Linked DNA regions of Homo sapiens: regions 2, 3 and 4 are each linked to region 1. Evidence: promoter capture Hi-C in 16 types of primary human blood cells and fetal thymus (Javierre and others, 2016). All regions are on one chromosome and are shown on one strand. Each heading gives the region's core, a stretch centred on a gene start or on the middle of the fragment in contact. The rest is flanking DNA. Distances are from core to core; before and after follow the strand shown. Region 1 holds the start of MTHFD2 (methylenetetrahydrofolate dehydrogenase (NADP+ dependent) 2, methenyltetrahydrofolate cyclohydrolase). Region 2 has its middle 2.3 kb from the start of PCGF1. Region 3 overlaps TTC31 (tetratricopeptide repeat domain 31). Region 4 holds the start of INO80B (INO80 complex subunit B).

Region 1 (3,464 bases), core at 543-3,042:
AATCCAATCCAGAATCAAACAGCATTTAGCTGTCATGCCTAGGCTCCTTTAATGGAGAACAGTTTCTCATTCTTTGTCTTTCATGGCCTTGGAGCTGTCAAGAGTACAAGCAATTTATCTTGTAGAATATCTCTCACTTTGGGCTTGTCTGATATTTCCTTGTGAATAGATTAAGATCTACTAGTGTGTTCCAAAGCTTTACAACTGTTTTTTTTCCTGGACAGTTTTAACATTCTAGGTCTGTGATCTTTCTTCTCAATGTGAAATGAGGAATCTGTAACCGTTTTTAGGAGACTCATTGGTTTAGGAAAATCACCTTATTAAATTTACAGACTTGTTAAGAGCTACGAAGTGATGTGTCTCCTCAATGGATCCTATCAGAAGGCATATATGTGTGTTCCCTTACTGGGTGGTGCTAACTTTGATCACGTGGTTGAAGCAGTAACTGTCATGTTTCTTCACTGTAAATTTACCATTTTCCTTTCCTTCCTGGAGGCTAGAAGTAAAGGTCAAGGTGTTGACAGGATTGGTTTCCCCTGTTCTTTGTTTGTTTGTTTTGTTTTTTGAGACAGAGTCTTTTTGTTGCCCAGGCTGAAGTGCAGTGGCACAGTCTCGGCTCCCTGCAACCTCTGCCTCCCAGATTCAAGCGATTCTCATGCCTCAGTCTCCCCAGTAGCTGGGATTACAGCGTCCGCCACGATGCTCAGATAATTTTTTGTGTTTTTAGTAGAGACGGGGGTTTCAACACATTGGCCAGGCTGGTCTCGAACTCCTGGCCTCAGGTGATCCGTCCGCCTTGGCCTCCCAAAGAGCTGGGGATTACAGAAGTGAGCCACCGCGCCCTGCCCTCCTTAAGTTTCCTTGCGGGAGAGATACTTTGAGACTATGCAAAAAGTTTGCGGGAAAAAATACAGGAAGCCCAGTTGAATCTGAATTCCAGATAAGCCATAAATAAAGTATAAATATGACCTCCCAAAGTGTTTATCTAAAATTCTGATTTGATTGGGCATCTTGTGTTTTTATTTGCTAGATCTGGCAACCCTATATGTAAATATCTTGCTCCTCATCCAACTTTCACCCAGTTGTTTTGACATCTATTGCTGCTTCTGAATCAGGGTTGCACATGCAACCCTGACGTCTGTCTCTGAATATCTTTTATGATTTTACTTTTTTTGTTGTTGTTTTGAGATATGGTCTCACTCTCGTCGCCCAGGCTGGAGTGCAGTGGCGCGCCTTCAGCTCACTGCAGCCTCAACCTCCTGAACTCAGGTGATCCTTCCACCTCAGCCTCCCCAGTAGCTGGTACTGTAGTCACGCGCCACCATGTACTGATTTTGGAAAATGGTGATTTTCTAACTCCATCATTCCTTTTACTTCTGTTCGTTGGCATTCTATCAGCTTGTCTTTTCATCCACCCTTTACAGTGCTTGGCACACAGTAGGCGCTCATATAATTGTTCAACGAATGAATGAATGAACTTTTCTCTTGTGTTGTCCGGCCTTCGGTGACACTAGCGGCGTCAGGCAGGAGTTTGACTTCCTCAGCCTATCATGGCACGTTGCCGAGGCTTCAGCGCCTTACAGGACCTCGCTCCAGGCTCTTCTGGCTCCAATCAAAAGCAGGGCTCTTTCGGACTTCGCTTACGTTTAATAAAGAAAACCGGTTGGCCCCTTCGGCTCCACCTGGCTCAACAGACAGCCAGTGGCATGCGGCAGGGACCAATGGGTGGCGGAGGGAGGCGGGGCCTGCCACGAGGCCGCAGTATAACCGCGTGGCCCGCGCGCGCGCTTCCCTCCCGGCGCAGTCACCGGCGCGGTCTATGGCTGCGACTTCTCTAATGTCTGCTTTGGCTGCCCGGCTGCTGCAGCCCGCGCACAGCTGCTCCCTTCGCCTTCGCCCTTTCCACCTCGCGGCAGTTCGGTAAGAGGGTCACAGAGCTCGGTCAGCGCGGAAAGCTGAGGGGAACGGAGGGCGAGGGGCACGCCGGGCCCCCGAGGGACACCGAGGGAAGTCCTTCCCGAACATCTCCGCCCCGGCGGTGGTGGCCGCTGAGGGGTGTGGCGGGGCGACGTGGCACCGAGCGCCGCCGCAGCTCTCGACTGGGGCGCTTCCTCGGCGCGGAGGGCTGGTACCCGAAGCCCGCCTTTCGGAGGGAGCCGCTCTCCTGCGACTCGGGGCGTCGCCGGGGCCCGTGGCCAGTCGGCGGGCGGGACGGGGGTGGCGTGCGGAACGCGAAGGCATCAGTTTACGCGGAGCCTTCCGACAGCGCCGGCCGCCTCTGGCTGGGATGCTGAGAGTCGTCTGGGGGAGAACAGGCGAGGGTTCCAAAAGAGCAGCCCTCGGCGAGTTGTCCTTGCGGGGACCCTAGCGGCGGAGGGCGCTGCTGCAGCTGATGAAATCGCGGAGCCGACTTGCTCGGGGTCCCCGCGCCGCCCTCCTCCCTCCGCCGGTGGGAGTGGCCCGCGCTGCCTCCGCTCTGCCAGGAACATGAACGGACTCTGGGCACCCTAGCTTTGGCTGCAGCCCACCAGAGCCTGTCAGTGCCGGGCTGCGTACATAGAGGTGGCAAACATCCGGGAGGCTCCCAGGGCCTTAGGGAAAGGGGGAATGGAGAGTGACAAGTACCCATATTTCAGCGGTACTTGCAGAATTTCAGTTTTACAAGATGAAGAGTTCTGAAGATGGATGGTGGTGATGGTTGCACAACATATGAACGTATTTAATACCACTGAACTGCACTTAAAAATGGTTAAGATGGGCCGGGCGTGGTGACACGCGCCGAGGCTGAGGCACGAGAATCGCTTGAGCCCAGGAGTTCGAGGCTGCAGTGAGCCGTGATTGCACCACTGCCCTCCAGTCTGGGCGACAGAGCGAGACCCTGTCTCAAAAAAAAAAAAAAAAAAAAAAGTTGATAAGGTTTATGTTATGTGAATTTTACCACAATAACAAAATTGGGAAAAATATACAGGGGAGGAGGAAAGGAAAAGCTCTGTTTGCATTTTTGGGTTTCCTTGGGAAGGTGATTTGGTCGGTCATTAGAGCGCTGGCATTGTTGGCATTGTTAGAGCCCTGCACCTTACAACATCAGCCCCTTCTTTTTTTCATCTAACGTTCACTGTGTACCAGACACTATGCCAAGCTGTGCGAATTCAAAGATGAGAAAAACTGTTCTTAATGGAGCTCATGTTCCTGACAAGGGGCAGAACACGCGTGTAATTTCCAGTCAGTGCGGAAATGCTGTTAGAAATATTTCAAAGGCGCTGCTTGTTGGAGCAATGAGTTCTTGAAGGAAAACGTGGGAGGGGACTTTCAGGGTTTTCCCTGGTCTGACTCTTGACCTCCCCCATGTTTCGTTACTGTGTGTTTTCTCCCCTTCTCCCTCTTCCTGAGTGCTGGCCTCATGTGACTGTGGACCAGACCTTTCCTAGGCTTCCATGGTCCAAAAGAGATTTATAAAGATGCTC
Region 2 (3,464 bases), core at 409-2,908, 310 kb after region 1:
GGACTTGGTAGTGATCTTATTCCCCCATTCTCCCCCCTGCTGCCGGGGATGGGGGGGGCAGGCCCTGGTTAATGATGATGATTTAATCATCGGCGCCTGCGGAGGCCTGGGACAGACTAATGCAGAGCAGATGCCGAAGGAGGAGGGGAGGACGACTAGGACACTGCCACACACAGACAGGCTTAGGCAGCGAGCGCCTGTAGTAGCATAGGCCCAGTCCCGCACTTGGGGACTACGCGGGGTGCTCGCTCGAGAGCTCTACACCGCCGGCTCTGGGTACTTAAAAAGGGATAAATTTGCTATGAGGTATTAACATCAAATGCAACTGGAGATACGAGAAGGGAGAGATTCCAATGGAGACCTCAAAAAAGGCTTTCTGGAGAAAGTGGGACTTTGGGCACAATTTAGACTTGGGGGAGGGGGTGGAAGTGTGGTGAAATAGAAAGGACGTGGAGGGGAATGACCAGAGGACAGGAAGGTCAAGATGTAGATTTGAGAGTGGTAATAGAAAAAGCAGGGCCATAAAGAGTTGCGATTTTTAGCCTGAGGGCAATTGGGAGCTAGCGGACTTTTTTGAAGGGAGGTTATCCTGTGAAAGCGACATTTTTGTTCATTTCTCTTCAGAGTGAATTGAAGTGAATATGCAGCAAGAAGTTATGAGATTAGTGATTAATCAATTATTCGTTACAGCCCCTGTTTACCTACTTCCCTGGTCCGAGCCACTATCATCTGTCCTCTGTAGTGGCCTCTTGACTGTTTTCCTTGAGTCCCCCTTCGCCTGTTCTCAACATCACAGTTGAGTGCTGTTTCTCAGAGCTAGTGATTCTGATAAAACATGAAACACAAAGGACAAAGGACAATTTTTGAGATGTGGATATGTTTATTATTTTTATGGTGATGATGGTATCATGGGTATATACATATGTCAAAACTTATCAAATTGTACACTTCAAATATTTGCAGTTTATATGTCCATTATACTTCAAGAAAGCTATTAAAAATAAAGTTGAAAAATTAGGTTGTTCCTTTTTTACGTTTAAAACCTGTTGAGAGCTTCCCTTTTCAATCAGAATGAAAGTCAAAGTCTCAGAGTGGTGTGCAAGGGCCTGCATAGTCTCTTCAGATACACCAGGATATCCTTCCACTGTGTCCCCAACTTGAAATGCTTAGGTATCCAAAATGGCTCCCTCCTTCTTTCAGGTCTTTACTCATGAGGCTGCTGTAATCACTCTAGATGAATAACAACTCACCCACCCTTTCACTTCCTTGCTCTTTTTTTTCTGGTTAGCACTTATTAGCATTCTATCATTTATTATTATTTAATATACATTTCTAATATATATTATATTTTCTAGTTATTTTCAGAAAATATTTTCTAGAAAACATATTTCCTAGTTTTTCATCTGCCTTTTCCACTAGACTATAAGCTTCTCAGTGGCAAGGATTTTTTTTCCTCTGTTGTGTTCACAGATATAGCTCCAGTGCCAGGTGCATAGTTGGTGTTCAATAAAACTTTTCTGGATGAATACATGAATGAATCCAAGTGGTGGTGATGACAGCCTCGATTAGGGTTTTAGCAATGGCAATGGAAAGGAAGGGCTGTATCTGAAACAGTTCAAAGGAAAGTATAATAGGAGGAAGTAGCCAGGAACCTGGCTTGGTAGGCCTGGGTAAGAGGGTGAATGAAGAGCTTTGGAGGGAAGCATGTCCTCCAGCCTGCTGGACTTAAGGTGGCTGCAGGGAAGCAGGGGGAGCTTGTCAGAAGGCTAGGAGAGTGAGCGGTGGGGCTGGAGTGTCAGAACAAGGGATGGAGGTCTCAGAGTTATCTGGCTGGATATGAGAGTTGGGACTTTTGGAATGGGTGAAACTTGAGCAGATGAAGAGATAAAGAAAGCTTAAGGCCTGGTGCAGTGGCTAATGCCTGTAATTCCAGCACTTTGGGAGGCTGAGGCAGGTGGATACTTGAGCCCAGGAGTTGGAGACCAGCCTGGGCAACATGGTGGGACTCCGTCACTACAAAAAGTACAAAAATTAGCCTGGCATGGTGGCGCATACCTGTAGTCCCAGCTACTTGGGAGGCTGAGTTAGGAAGATTGCTCGAGCCTGGGAGGTTGAGGCAGCAGTGAACCGTGATAATGCTACTGCACTCCAGCCTGAGCGACAGAGTGAGATCCCATGTCTTAAAAAAAAAAAAAAAAGAAAAGAAAAAAGAAAGCTTAAGTCTGAGCTCTGAAGAATCCTCACAGTCTTCAGTGGAAGAAGGAAAATCAGTGGAGGAAAAACATAAGCAGTGACTACGAAAGTCCAAAGATGTGGAATAAGATATTACAGAAGCAAAAAGAAGGGACACTTCAAAAAATAATTGATGACCAACAAAGTAAAACATGCCAGGGAAGTCCTGGAGGAGGGATACTGAACACTGGAGCTCTCTGAGAAAGGGTTACTATAATGAAGGCAGCTTGCACTGAGTTAAAACAAGAATAAATCATGATGAAATGGAGGCAGTAGGCATGAAGTAAAAAGGAAAGGAAAAGCATGATCTCTCTTGAAGACTCAGGCAAAGATTTTGTCCAGATGATAAAGATCTGAGACAGCTGAGGGGTAGGAAAGACTAAGTTGATGAGAGCCACGGACACACAGGACATGGTGAGACAGATCCAAAGCAGTGTGTATGAGGGGGCACTCATTCCAGCACCTCTATCTTCGTCTTTTTTTTTTTTTTTTTTTTTTGAGATGGAGTCTCGCTTTGTCACCCAGGCTAGAGTGCAGTGGCGCGATCTCGGCTCACTGCCAGCTCCGCCTCCCGGGTTCACGCCATTCTCCTGCCTCAGCATCCCGAGTAGCTGGGACTACGGGTGCCCGCCACCAAGCCCGGCTAATTTTTTGTAGTTTTAGTAGACACGGGGTTTCACCGTGTCAGCCAGGATGGTCTCAATCTGCTGACCTCGTGATCCACCCACCTAGGCCTCCCAAAGTGCTAGGATTACAGGCATGAGCCACCGCGCCTAGCCAATCTTGAATATAAACCAGCAGGAACCATCCTTTCCCCGTGAATCAGAGACAAGGAGGCAAGAAAGGACATTTCAAGCCAGGTTGGGGTGGTGGTGCACACCTGTAACTCTAGATACTCAGGGGGTCAAAGTGGGAGGATTGTCTGAGCCCAGGAGTTTGAGGCCAGCCAGCCAGCCTGGGCATCATAGCGAGACTCTGTCTCTTAAAAAAAGAGAAAGTCCTAGGACTGTGGTCTGGGTGACGTAACTGGATGCCATCTGTTCTTGAAGTGGGGCACTAAAATATTTTAAAAACTCTCCAGAACACTTGTATGAACTACTGAGTTTGTGACCATTCTCCTTAAAGGATTAGTTGGACAGTCCCTGGGTGGCAGTACCATCTGTGCTGAACTCAAACGGCAGGGGTGTACGGGTCTGCATGATGTTGCCTTTTTTTCATTTGTTGATTCACTC
Region 3 (3,464 bases), core at 334-2,833, 290 kb after region 1:
GTGGCGTGTGCCTGTAATCCCAGCTACTTGGGAGGGTGAGGCAGGAGAATCGCTTGAACACGGGAGGCAGAGGTTGCAGTGAGTTGAGATCATACCACTGCACTCCAGCCTGGGTGACAGAGCAAGAATCCACCTCAAAAGAAAAAATAACCTCAGATGCAAGTGGCTCCACTCCAGCACAATGCCCTTTGGAATTCCATGCTGCCTGGCCAATGAGGAGAGCAATAGAAAGCAATCAATAACAAGTTTCTAAATTGTGTAACACAGATAATGTGGTTGCAGGTTAGTTGGAGGAGGCAGAGATAATTGGAGATGAAAGGGTCTGGGAAGGCTTTGAAGGGAGATAGAATTTGAACTGGACCTTGAAGGTGAGGCAAGATGTGAGAAAGAAGCTCAAGAGTTAGGAGGGATTGGAGAGCAGCTGGGGGAAGGCCCCAAGGCTGGAGGGAGCCTGGTGGTGGGAGGGAGGACAGCAGTGAAGCAGGGGAGGATTAAAAGGAGGGCTGGAAAGGTCAGCCTGGGAGCCTTTTGGAAGGCTCTGAATCGTAGGCTGAGGAATTAGGTTCAACTCTGCCTATGGCCTTGGCAGTGGGGGATTATTGGATGTCCCTGAGTAGGGAAGTAATTTCTTAGAGCTTAGTTTTGTGGAGAAACAGATGAGGTGCAGAGGAGCGGCCAGCCAGGAGCTGCTGTACTTGTTTAGGTGTGAGCTAGCCTCAGGGTGGGTTATGTGGAGCTGTTCATACTGCAGATATGACAGGGGGCCTAGCTGGAAGAGCAGGTGGGAGGGCTTCATTCCAGGGGCCTCAGTGTGGCTAACTCAGGTTGAGGAGAGAAGATCCTGGATGGTAGAGGAGGCCAGGTTGAATACCATACTCAACCCTTGGGAAGGCAGGAAAGCAGCGAGGGGAGGTGATTCACTACAATAGCTGGGGGCAGCAGATTTTGCGGTGCTGAGGAGGGAGAGGTCAGAGCCAGTGAGAGTCTCTGGGCTGGATAGCTGGTTGGTGGCTGCCATGGTGGAGAGATCAAGCCAGCGAAGCCCTTGCTCTCTCCAGGAACTGCCCCCAACACCAGCCTCCCCTCCCCTCCCCTCCCCTCCCAGGACATAGTGGATTTTCTTCGACGGCTTGTGGAGAGTGATCCCCAGGGCCTGCACCGGATCCATGTGGATGGGAGCAGCGGGCGGCTGCAGCTGTGGCACCATGGTGGGGAGTGCAGGGACCGGGCCCAGGGATCGAGGCTGGTACCCTGGGAGGGCTGACCCTCAGATGCACCCCGCTCTCATGTCCTTTCTTTCCTGTCTCTTTCTCCCTCCTGACAGATTACCTCCTGGGCCACTTGGATGATGAAGGGAAATCAACTGGACAGAGTGACAGGGGCAAGGGGGCTGAGGGACTGGGCACCTACTGTGGTCTCCGCAAGTCCTTCCTGTATCCTCCCCAAGAGTCTGAGCCCTGCCCTCAAAGCCCCTCTGCCTCTGCCACCTTCCCCAGTGTCTCAGACAGCCTGCTTCAGGTGGCCATGCCCCAGAAGCTCCTGGTGACAGAAGAGGTGAGATTCTCAGGAGAGGGCTTTGCCGTCCCCCAGGGTTCTTTCAATCCCTGTATCCCCATCCCTATATTCTCCCCTAATTGGTACCTTTCAAGATCCTTCTATACTGCCTGCCCCCTTTCATGTTTGCTCTCCATTTCCCTGTTTCTCTCTTTTTCTGTCACCTGCCCTTCGTCCTTCAGGAAGCCAATCGCCTGGCTGAGGAGCTGGTGGCTGAGGAGGAGCGCATGAAACAGAAAGCAGAGAAAAAGCGACTCAAGAAGAAGGTGGCTAGAGCATGGCTGGAGGGTGCAGGGGAGCCAAAGGGATTTGGGAGAGGGAAAGAGGAAACTTTGTGGGAACAGGAGAGAGCTCAAGATGGCCTGCAGTGGACTCTCTTGCCAGGAGGACACAAGGGGCCCAGGGACTGGGGGGTCTCTCACAGGCCATCTGGTGCAGTGGTTCTGGAATCCTACTGTGCTGCCTAGGTAGGAATCTGCCTCCTTACATGAGGCCTCTTGCTGGTGCCTCTCTTGTCTGCTTTTTCACCTGCAAAATGAGGATAATAATGATGCCTGTCTCATAGAGCTGCAAAGATGGAATGCGAAATCTTAGCCCAGCACACGACATACAGTAAGTGTTCAAAATACATCATTGTTACCATTACTATTGCAGCGTCAAAAGGAACGGAAGCGACAGGAGCGTTTGGAGCAGTACTGTGGGGAGCCCAAGGTGAGTATCTAGGGCAGGTACTAAGAGCACCAAGTGCCAGGAAGGTGAGGGCCAAGAAAGCAGGCAGCTCAAGGTGATCCCAACTCTGTACCTGTCTATCTTTCTTCCAGGCCAGCACTACCTCAGATGGAGATGAGAGCCCCCCATCCAGCCCTGGAAACCCAGTTCAGGGACAGTGTGGTGAAGAAGAGGTGAGAGCCCCTTTTTTCCCTTCTTGGTCTCTGCTCATTTTCCTCCTCCTCCTCCAGAATGTACTTCATCCCCACCCCCTCCCTAACTTTCCATTTTGTTCACAGGACTCACTGGATCTATCTAGCACTTTTGTGTCTCTGGCTTTGCGCAAGGTTGGGGATTGGCCCCTCAGTGCCCGCAGAGAGAAGGGACTGAACCAGGAGCCCCAAGGCAGGGGTCTGGCCCTCCAGAAGATGGGTCAAGAGGAAGAGAGCCCTCCAAGAGAGGAGAGGCCCCAGCAGAGTCCAAAGGTACAGGTGAGGTGGCTGAAGAACCTTATTCAGCTGGAACCGTGGAAGGGGCACAAGGAGCTGCTGGGGAGGCACAGGGTCTAAGGATTGACACAGGGTCCAGTGGGAGTTCTCTGGCTCTAGGGTCAAGAGACCTACAGTCAGGCCCCATCACTGTCACCATGACCCCGGGTGGTTTCCTGTCTAGGAAGATAGGGCTGATACCATCTTGTAGGGCTGTCATGAGGATTACATGAGTTGGGTAATGCTAATTGCAGTGTTACCTGTTTAAACAAAGGAGAAGGATTTGGGGAGGCTGAGACCTCAAGACCTGCTTGACTTTGCACCCTATCCCCAGGCATCTCCGGGACTGCTGGCAGCTGCCTTACAACAGAGCCAGGAACTGGCAAGTGAGATCCTTTCTCTCTCCGTCCTCACCCCACCCTCCCTGGGGTAGCCCCATCTGAACCTTCTCACCCTCTTTCCTTTCCAGAGTTGGGTACCAGCTTTGCTCAAAATGGTTTCTACCATGAGGCCGTGGTCCTCTTCACCCAGGCCTTGAAGCTCAACCCCCAGGACCACCGGTAGGTGGGGGCTTGGCCAGGGCAGGGCAGAGTGTTGAGGACTCAGACCTTTGGCCACCTTCTGTCTTTATCAGGTTATTTGGAAATCGTTCCTTCTGCCATGAGCGGTTGGGTCAGCCAGCGTGGGCCCTGGCTGATGCCCAGGTGGCCCTTA
Region 4 (3,464 bases), core at 434-2,933, 260 kb after region 1:
ACTGAAGCATCTACTATGTGCCTGTGCCTGTGCCTGCTGCCACCCTAAGTATCATGAGTTCTTGATTTCCTTTATTCCTTGAAAGAGCCCTCATAGCGGTGGATCCTACTGTATTCCATCTTATAGAGCTGGATTCTCAGGTTCAGAGAGCTTAAATAATTTTAGGCCCAAGGTTGCATAGCTAATAAATGGTGAAACTGGGATTTGATAATAGGCTTGTCTGACTCCAAAATCCCTTTTCATAATCACATACTACATGACTTAATCCTGGATTCCCCAATATAATTGCTCATTGATTCTTGATAATTTTATCACTGAAATGTAAGAGACTTTTCACTGCTGTTACCTTGCTCAGACACTCATATATATTTAGATATATGTATATAGGTGTTATTTTCTAATTATAAACGTGATATATATTGGCTGTAAGAAAATACATTACATACCTAAATAGTGAAAGTTCCTCAACCCCAACTTCTACAGTTAACCAACATTAACAGGTATACATTCCTCAATTTTTTCTATGTATTTGCTAGTATATTATGCTTTTAAAAATCAGATCACATAATCTTGAAATTTACTTTTTTTTTTTTTTCTTTTTTTTGAGACGGAGTCCCGCTCTGTCGACCAGGCTGGAGTGCAGTGGCGCGATCTCGGCTCACTGCGACCTCCACCTCCCGGGTTCAAGCGATTCTCCTGCCTCAGCCTCCCGAGTAGCTGGGACTACAGGCGCGTGCCATCACGCCGGCTAATTTTTTTTTTTTTTTTTGTATTTTTAGTAGAGACGGGGTTTCATCGTATTAGCCAGGATGGGAAATTTACTTTTCTTATTTCGTGTATCAGCACATACAAACCTACCTGTTTTTATGTCTTTTTTAAAATGAGGTAAAATATACACGTTTTATACAAAATTCAAAAGGCACAAGAGGGTATAATCATAAAAAAATAGGTCGCCATCCACCCTTGTTCTCTAGATGCTCATCAGCAAATGACTCTTACCAATTTCCTAGATAGCCTTCTGGGGCGCCTCATTTCTTTTCCAAGCTGCTTAACATCCCACTGTATGGATACACCAATTCATCAGGACACTTAGATTGTTTAAATTCTGTGTCAATCTCATTAATTACTTACAACTCAACTTTTCTTAGCAATATGGTGTTCCGCATTGTACAGCTGCACCGTAATTCATTTATTCATTTCCCTACTTATGAAAATTGAAGTTTAAATACCTAAACTGCATCTGCTCTTAGGGCACTCGTGCTGTTTAACCATTTCGGCCATTTTGTCATCAATATAGTTTATGTATTCCTCCACCCAACTGTGAGTTCCTCAAGGACAGGGGCGGTGTTCATATTCATCTTTGCATCCTCTTAGACTAGCTTCCCGCACTTGGTCTAGTGTATACATTCACCAAACTTGTGTTCAATAATTGACTCATCCGCGCTGAGTTCTGAAAGCTAGCGTGGGGAGGCGGAGCCAGGGGAAAGCCCTGCCCATTTGGGCTGTCCCGACCTCAGAGGGACCGGAACGTTCGTTGGAAGGATCCTCGTTTCTCAGGGACGATTTTGGACGCGAAGCGTGCCCCGCACAAGGATGGTTGCCATGAACCGGAAGTAACTGGTTGTTTTGCTGGCTCCAGTTTTTCCGCGGGGCGGAAAAGGCGTGTCTGCGTGTGTCCCAACCATTTCTAGTCCCCTTTCCTCGCAGGACCTCATGAGTAAGCTGTGGCGGCGTGGGAGCACCTCTGGGGCTATGGAGGCCCCTGAGCCGGGTAAGCGCGAATAGATCAAGCAATTTAGGTCGTGTTAGAAAAGAAGTCCCGTTCTTGCTCCTCGGAGAGTCCAGGGTACTTCGGCCACAGGTGGCAAGGAGAAAGGCGGTGCTGTTGTTATGGTAACAGCGAGTACTGCGGGAAGGGTGGGATCCAGTAGGGGCTTAGGTTATTCAGGGCTTCCCCTGCCACCCTCCGGCCAAACACTGTCGACAGGCTTTCCTTCCACAGGAGAAGCCCTGGAGTTGAGCCTGGCGGGTGCCCATGGCCATGGAGTGCACAAGAAAAAACACAAGAAGCACAAGAAGAAACACAAGAAGAAACACCATCAGGAAGAAGACGCCGGGCCCACGCAGCCGTCCCCTGCCAAGCCTCAGCTCAAACTCAAAATCAAGCTTGGGGGACAAGTCCTGGGGACCAAGAGGTGAGGCCAAGAGGGTCATAGTTTTATAAGGGGAACTTTAGGAGCAGAGATAGTAGTTAGAAGCCGACTGGGCTTTCTAGAAGACCGAATGGACACTGTGACTTCAGGGTCCAGATTTAGGCAGCAAGAGTCTAAGAGGGTGGGGAAAGTTGGGTGTAGCTACGGAGTAGGAGGAGGAGACGCTTGCTCATTTTAAAGAGTAGTGTTGCTTCTCTGCAGTGTTCCTACCTTCACTGTGATCCCAGAGGGGCCTCGCTCACCCTCTCCCCTTATGGTTGTGGATAATGAAGAGGAACCTATGGAAGGAGTCCCCCTTGAGCAGTACCGTGCCTGGCTGGGTGAGGATCTGGAGGTGGGGAAACTGGGTTTCTTATTATACCCGCCTAAAGAAAGAAGGTTGGTTCTGAAATGGGTTAGGATTTTCCATGTCCCAGTATTAACTCAGCCAAATTAGGGTGCCCCATCTGAACAATTCTGTTTTTCTTTCTCCAACTTCCTTCCCAGATGAAGACAGTAATCTCTCTCCCTCTCCACTTCGGGACCTATCAGGAGGGTTAGGGGGTCAGGAGGAAGAGGAGGAACAGAGGTGGCTGGATGCCCTGGAGAAGGGGGAGCTGGATGACAATGGAGACCTCAAGAAGGAGATCAATGAGCGGCTGCTTACTGCTCGACAGGTATGTTGGTTCATTGTTTATTCACTCACCAAATGTATACAGTATTGAGAACTCTCCACGACCCACGCACTTTGCGTGGCATTGGGGATATCGATAGTAGAGAAAAGACAAAGTTTCTGTTCTCCTGGAGCTAGTATTCTAGTGTGTGTGTTGGGGGGCTGGGAAGTAAATAAGTAAATAATTTCAAAAAGCTATATGGTTTATGACAAAAAGAAAAGGGTGATGAAATAGAAAGTGGCGTAAACAAACAGATAGAAATGATGGAAGAGAGACATTAGGGTAGTTAGAGAAGGCTTCTTTGAAGAGATAACATTTGCAATACCAGAAGAGCTTTTGAGCAGAGACCAGCAGGCGCACAGACCTTGAGACTGGAACATGTCTAGCAAAGGAGAAGAAAAAGTGGACAAGCCACTGAAGGGCTGTACGCAGAGAAGTGACATACTTGGTTTACATTTCAATAGATTACTTTGGCATCTTTGTAGAGAATGAATCTTCGTGGAGACAAGAGATAGAAGTATGGAGAACAACTAGGAAGCTGTTGAAGTAATCAGCTGAGAGGCAGTGGTTGCTTTAACCAAGACGAAAGTGGTGGAGA

The links. Contacts are between HindIII fragments. The CHiCAGO score rates a contact against its expected background, and 5 or more counts as called.
Region 2: a contact is called between a fragment that was not itself captured here and the fragment with the promoter of MTHFD2 in region 1, in 4 of 17 cell types (naive CD4 T cells, activated CD4 T cells, total CD8 T cells and 1 more). The highest score is 8.5, in naive CD4 T cells.
Region 3: a fragment that was not itself captured here is called in contact with the fragment with the promoter of MTHFD2 in region 1 in 2 of 17 cell types (activated CD4 T cells and naive CD4 T cells); the score reaches 7.3 in activated CD4 T cells.
Region 4: a contact is called between the fragment with the promoter of INO80B here and the fragment with the promoter of MTHFD2 in region 1, in 15 of 17 cell types (total CD8 T cells, naive CD8 T cells, non-activated CD4 T cells and 12 more). The highest score is 15.6, in total CD8 T cells.

Annotation. Positions count from the first base shown.
Region 1 is chr2:74,196,823-74,200,286 of GRCh38, forward strand. It overlaps MTHFD2 (methylenetetrahydrofolate dehydrogenase (NADP+ dependent) 2, methenyltetrahydrofolate cyclohydrolase), which reads left to right and starts at 1,793. Exons shown (of 8, transcript NM_006636.4): 1 at 1,793-1,920. The coding sequence starts at 1,820. RefSeq lists an enhancer at 1,455-2,013 and silencers at 1,722-1,861, 2,052-2,331, 2,462-2,551. The HindIII fragment of the contact is 3,357 bases long and covers 195-3,464 here.
Region 2 is chr2:74,508,216-74,511,679 of GRCh38, forward strand. No RefSeq gene overlaps it. Among named protein-coding and RNA genes, the nearest start is that of PCGF1, 2.3 kb to the left of the region's middle. RefSeq lists an enhancer at 230-289. The HindIII fragment of the contact is 467 bases long and covers 1,426-1,892 here.
Region 3 is chr2:74,488,920-74,492,383 of GRCh38, forward strand. It overlaps TTC31 (tetratricopeptide repeat domain 31), which reads left to right. Exons shown (of 13, transcript NM_022492.6): 3 at 1,106-1,208; 4 at 1,325-1,554; 5 at 1,737-1,820; 6 at 2,209-2,265; 7 at 2,376-2,456; 8 at 2,562-2,753; 9 at 3,085-3,136; 10 at 3,220-3,310; 11 at 3,385-3,464. Among named protein-coding and RNA genes, the nearest start is that of TTC31, 7.6 kb to the left of the region's middle. The HindIII fragment of the contact is 4,043 bases long and covers 1-3,464 here.
Region 4 is chr2:74,453,404-74,456,867 of GRCh38, forward strand. INO80B (INO80 complex subunit B) reads left to right here and starts at 1,684. Exons shown (of 5, transcript NM_031288.4): 1 at 1,684-1,771; 2 at 2,003-2,195; 3 at 2,415-2,533; 4 at 2,700-2,869. The coding sequence starts at 1,714. It overlaps INO80B-WBP1 (INO80B-WBP1 readthrough (NMD candidate)), which reads left to right and starts at 1,620. Exons shown (of 8, transcript NR_037849.1): 1 at 1,620-1,771; 2 at 2,003-2,195; 3 at 2,415-2,533; 4 at 2,700-2,869. RefSeq lists an enhancer at 1,198-1,787. The HindIII fragment of the contact is 3,309 bases long and covers 1-2,164 here.